Linked DNA regions of Homo sapiens: region 2 is linked to region 1. The links are contacts of gene promoters, found by promoter capture Hi-C in blood cells and fetal thymus (Javierre and others, 2016). All regions are on one chromosome and are shown on one strand. Each heading gives the region's core, a stretch centred on a gene start or on the middle of the fragment in contact. The rest is flanking DNA. Distances are from core to core; before and after follow the strand shown. Region 1 holds the start of RPL36AL (ribosomal protein L36a like). Region 2 overlaps NIN (ninein).

The links. Contacts are between HindIII fragments. The CHiCAGO score rates a contact against its expected background, and 5 or more counts as called.
Region 2: a contact is called between a fragment that was not itself captured here and the fragment with the promoter of RPL36AL in region 1, in 2 of 17 cell types (naive CD4 T cells and non-activated CD4 T cells). The highest score is 6.6, in naive CD4 T cells.

Annotation. Positions count from the first base shown.
Region 1 is chr14:49,619,224-49,621,936 of GRCh38, reverse strand. RPL36AL (ribosomal protein L36a like) reads left to right here and starts at 1,311. Exons shown (of 2, transcript NM_001001.5): 1 at 1,311-1,375. It overlaps MGAT2 (alpha-1,6-mannosyl-glycoprotein 2-beta-N-acetylglucosaminyltransferase), which reads right to left and starts at 1,138. Exons shown (of 1, transcript NM_002408.4): 1 at 1-1,138. The coding sequence starts at 668. RefSeq lists silencers at 647-756, 1,057-1,266 and enhancers at 488-1,038, 1,427-1,536. The HindIII fragment of the contact is 17,089 bases long and covers 1-2,713 here.
Region 2 is chr14:50,827,202-50,829,914 of GRCh38, reverse strand. The region is part of intron 2 of NIN (ninein); the gene reads left to right. Among named protein-coding and RNA genes, the nearest start is that of NIN, 2.6 kb to the left of the region's middle. RefSeq lists an enhancer at 22-71. The HindIII fragment of the contact is 164 bases long and covers 1,292-1,455 here.

The DNA of each region.
Region 1 (2,713 bases), core at 62-2,561:
CTATAATGGCCGAAGGAGTCGGGATACTCAGCATTGATGCACCCCAATTTCAAAGCGGCATTCTTCGGCAGGTCTCTGGGACAATCTCTAGGGTCACTACCTGGAAACTCGTTAGGGTACAACTGAATGCTGAAAGGAAAGAACACCTGCAGAACCGGACAGAAATTCACCCCGGCGATCAGCTGATTGATCTCGGTCGACCAGAAGTCATGGCTAAAGATGACGAGGACGTTGTCAATTCCCTGGGCTTTTCGAAGTGAGTCCAGCAGCAGTCTGAGGTATTCGGGCCGGTTATGCACCTGGACCACCAGCACCAGCTCCCGGGGGGCCCAGGTGCCAGCCTTATCTACATTCCTCAGGGTCTGATCAAAGTTCAGCTGGTACACCAGGGACCGGTACCGCAGCGTCAGGTTGTCCGCCTCGGGCTGGGGGACCGCCGGGACCAGGGAAGCCGCCGACACGTTGGAGACCCTGCGGATGCCCACAGCCACAGAGGGGTGGTCCCCACCGCGGCCGCCGGCACCCCGCGCGGGTTCGGCGTCCAGCAACGGTGGGGCGAGGGCCTCGTTCTTCCTTTGTCGCCCATTGCTGCTCCAGAGGACGAAGCCGCAGGCGGCCACCACGAGCGTCAGGATTAGCACCTTCCGTTTGTAGATGCGGAACCTCATGGTCTCCAGGGCCGGGAGCGCAGGCGGGCGGGCGCGGAAAGGAGCAGCTGCTTCTGCACGGAAGGGGCGGGCGGGCGGCGGCCGTCGCCTTGGCCTGTCACGGTCGGAACTGGCCCCCGCGGCTGCCCTCGCTAACTCATCCCGGGCCCCGGGGGTCCTGGGGCCCGAGACCTCTCATTTACCCCGCGCCGCCTGCGCTCCACACATCCTCGCCTGGCAGCTACAGCTCGAGCATCGGCGCCGCCGCTAGGAGCCGCGGCTCGGCTTCGTCTCCGTCCTCTCCATTCAGCACCACGGGTCCCGGAAAAAGCTCAGCCGCGGTCCCAACCGCACCCTAGCTTCGTTACCTGCGCCTCCAGCGGCCCTGCGTCCTCTGCGCTCTCATCCTTACAGGGGCCCTAGACGGCCAGAACTGAGCGACGCGGCCTCGCCTCACTCCGGCGGGGACCGTTATGACAACCCGCAACTGCCCCGCGGCACACCGCGGCCCTCCGGCCCACACCCCTCCGGCCCGCCCCTTAGACCGTTGGTTGGTGCTTTCCAGACGCGACCGAAGGCGCCTGACCGCCGTGGCCGGCTGCCTATTGGTTTGCAGTACTGTCGCTCAGGTGCAGTTCCCACTTCCGCCTGTTTCTTCCCTTTCCTGTTAGGCGAGAGCTGCGAAAGGCGAGAGCTGCGAAGGGCCAGGTGTCGGGCGCTGTTTCTCGGTAAGCTAAGAACGAGGCTGTAGCGGCTCCAATAGGAGCCTCCCTTGCTCAGAATCCTGGGTAGGACTAGGCCTTCTTAGGAAAGGGAAGGCGAGACCTATGGCCCTCGCCGGCCTTAGTTCGAGAGCAGGCTTCTCCCTTCAGGAAAAAGGTCTCAGGCATGGCGGCTATAGAATCGCGGGGCGCGCCGGCTTGATAAGGACACGTCAGCCCTCGAGGCTGCTGACGGGTGACTGTGCTTCGGAGGGGAAAAGTGATACTACGCTGATGTGGTTCTCGTAGAAGGAACGGGGCGGGTCGTAACCGTAGCTACAACGTCGCGCGCTGCCCCAGCCATTCTCTAGAGCTGGAAAATGGAGGAGGTGGGTGGGGGGAAGGGGGTCAAAGAAACTCTGGTCCTTAACTTCCTTTTCGGAAGAAAATTAGATGAACCGCACTTTTCTTTTGGAGCAGTCACAATAAATTAAACTCATTTCGTACGGAAAACGGACTGTATTGGGCCTCCTAAAGCTGCTGCTGTCGGTTTTCGTGAGTCTTGTTCTATATGAGAAAAGAAGAATGGCTCGGAGCATTGTTAATTATTTGAGATGTGCAAAATTTGCCGGGCCCAGAGAGACAGCAGTATGGGACTTCAGACACCTCCCCACTTAATGCCTGGCATTTTATTCCTGACTAGCTGCTTCACCCATTATGTCCGCGTTCCTGGAATTTGTCATGAAAAGAATGATGTATAGCCAATCAATCGCTTGTGTTATTTTAATGTAAATTCTTGGTAGACAATTTAGGAACTGCCATTTTTTCCTCTAAAAACCCACTTGCAACTGCTGCTACTCAGGGCATTTTGAATCTGTGCTCTGGGTTGCAATCCTCAAACTTGCCCCAAATAAACATTCTACTTATATGAATTGTGCCTCAGTTCTTTTTTTTTTTTGAGACGTAATTCCGCTGTTGTTGCCCAGGCTGGAGTGCAATGGTGCGATCTCGGCTCACGGCAACCTCCGCCCCTCCCCACCCCGCCCAAGCGATTCTCCTTACAGGTATGCACCACCACCACGCCAGGCTAATTTTGTATTTTTAGTAGAGACGGGGTTTCTCCATGTTGGTCAGGCTGGTCTCGAACTCCGGACCTCAGGTGATCCGCCCTTCTCGGCCTCCCAAAGTGCTGGGATTACAAGCATGAGCCACCGTGCTCGGCCTTGCCTCAGTTCTTTAGGTCGACAAATTAGTCCTCCAGTAATTTAAACGAAGTGTTTCAAAAAGGTATGTACTTGTATGTGCGTTTATTCATATGGAAAAAGAGTACGTGGTGGATTTATATATTACTCATTTATGTGTACG
Region 2 (2,713 bases), core at 124-2,623, 1.2 Mb before region 1:
CGGGGAAGGAAGCTTCCAGCGGCTAGGCTTCTGTAGCTACCGAAGCGGCCCCTGACAGAAGGACACTAGGTGATGGGAACAGTCACTGCTTCCAGCTCTCGCTGCGAAGTTAAAAGAGATAGAGACGGAAAGAGGCAATTTCCCTAACCCCAGCCCTGACAACCCGAGGTGAAGGCACCAACAAAATGGGAGCTGGAAAGACTGCCCTACCATATATCATGTTTCCAGACAACTTGGATATTATGAGATCTGCTTTCTGCTCCTAACTAGGACAGATCCTCTCCTGGTGTTGAGGACTTCTAAGATGGGCTTGCCATACAGCTCAACTCCTGAATTTATTACATCGAAACAGATTGCGTAGTTGTCTTTTGTGACTGACATGGTAGCTTTGTAGGATGAGAATCCTGATAAAGTCCATCCTGACACATGAGGGAAGCCCCTGGAACCACGACGTTTCTCAGTTAGGTCCCCGTAAACACCATAACATACACACATGTTTGCATGATTCCGGAGGCTTGATGATCTAACAAGGAAAATTCCTTTTTTCTGTCAGTTTAATTTTACCTTGAGTCTTCTCTCGTGGTGAGCATATTATATAGGTGGCTGACCTGGAATATTGGTGGCTCTTGCTCCGGAGTTGAAGGGAGCTGAGGATTTCCAGAGTGTGTATAGGAGGAACATTACAGGCTGGCTGAAAAACGAGTTTGTGTGTTGTGGTCTCTTCAGCTATTGTCAGTGTCCTTTGGGAGGTGATGTGAACTGCCCGGGAATTTGTTTGCAGATTTGTTTATTTTCCCTGTTCTCTGGTGATTCTTTAGAGGGAAGCATTCTGCAGAGTGGGGAAAAGGTAGGATGAATGTTCCACAGGGTTGGACATCGGCAAAGTTATTACCAATACAGGGAAAGGCTTCACAGGGGGCAATAGAGAGGAAGCCATCATACAGTCTGCATTAAAATGTCAAGGATCAGTCATTTTAATAGGCACTTGCTCAGAATGGCGTGGGGTTCTTTTTTCTTATTTCTTTTTCATTTTAGATGTGTAATGACCCTTAATATCAAAAGATGTTAACTGTCACAGAGGGGGAGAATAGGGCTCCAGTGAATTCTGAACAGCCAATCTTAATGTAATAGGCAGTATTCTTATCATGAGTCAAATGTTCAAATAAATTGTTTTAAATGTCACTGCAAATGACTTTCTAAACTAACATTTCAACTATCTTGATGCTTCCATTTTATGTTGATAATGAAAATGCATTTTATCAGTCTTACATTGATAAAGGGTGGGCAAGCTTAGCCAGAGCATTTTAGAAGGATTTAAACAGCGTGAAGCCTTTTTAGAAGGCTTATTTTTATAGATGCCAATTCATTTGTAAGCCAATAAATTATCTGGTTTGAATTCTAGCTATTGAACTTGCATCTGTTGGGCAGGGGCTTATGGAGAGACTTAGTGAAGCTTGCAAAAAGATTTTTATCCTATTTATGAATAAAATAGAATTTTGAAAAGATTATGAGATTCTGAAAGTGAGCATCCTTGTTTGAAATTAGGACACTTCTTTATTGCAATTTAAGTCAGCAATTAACCATTTATTCAAGCTTTTGGATGGAAAAATTACAAAGCATCTATCTATACCCTAATTCTCACTTTAAAAACAAAGTTGGGAAAATATTGTTCATAGACGTGAGAAGAGAAGATCACCTTCACTTACACCTCAGGGTACCATACTCATAGCCTCAGGCATCCTAAATTAATGTGAGTCAATATGGCTTAAGAAGTGGAAGTTGTTATAAGCTTTCTCCTTTTTTTTTTTTTTTGTAACAAACATGCAGCTCTGTTTTCTGCTTCTGTAATTTACTTAGTAGTTGATTACAGGTTACTGAATGCACATTGTGCCAGGCTAATGGCGTTTTTTTGTTGTTGTGTTTTTTGTTTTTTGTTTTTTTTTTCCTGTAGCTAACCTGAGTTAACTACTTGATTGGGTAATCTACCAGTTATTAGGTTGAACAAAAGCATGGGTTTATTACATCCTTCAGGATAGTAAAATAATAAAGGTTGCTTACATTTTCGAATAAACGCTGATAGGATTCCCTTAGTTAAATATTATAGTGTAGTTGACAAAGGTTGTTATTTTTCTTTTTCTTTCTTTTTTTTTTTTTTTTTGATACGGAGTCTCTCGCTCTCTCCTGGGCTGGAGTGCAATGGCATGATCTCGGCACACTGCAACCTCTGCCTCCCAGGTTCAAGCAACACTTCTGCCTCAGCCTCCCGAGTAGCTGGGATTACAGGTGTGCGCCACCACACCTAGCTATTTTTTTTTTTTTTTTTGTATTTTTAGTAGAGACAGGGTTTCAACGTGTTAGCCAGGATGGCCCCGATCTCCTGACCTTGTGATCCACCTGCCTCAGCCTCCCAAAGTGCTATGATTACAGGCATGAGCCCCCGCTCCCAGCCATTTTTTCAAATGTATTTAATGTGACTTTCTTCCTGTGCATTTAAGCTTTCGTGTTATATTTTTGTATCATGATTTCATTCACAGTGATATTGTTGTGCTTTTGGTATCCAGCTAGAAGTGAGACACTGAGCAGAGAGGAGGCATTCTGACAGTAATCAGTTTGCTGCTAAGCAGCACTGGTTTTTGGCGGAAGTATTCTCCTATATAAACTCGTAAATGGCTGCAACTGCTTTTTCTATTGAGCTTTTACTAAACTTGAATTT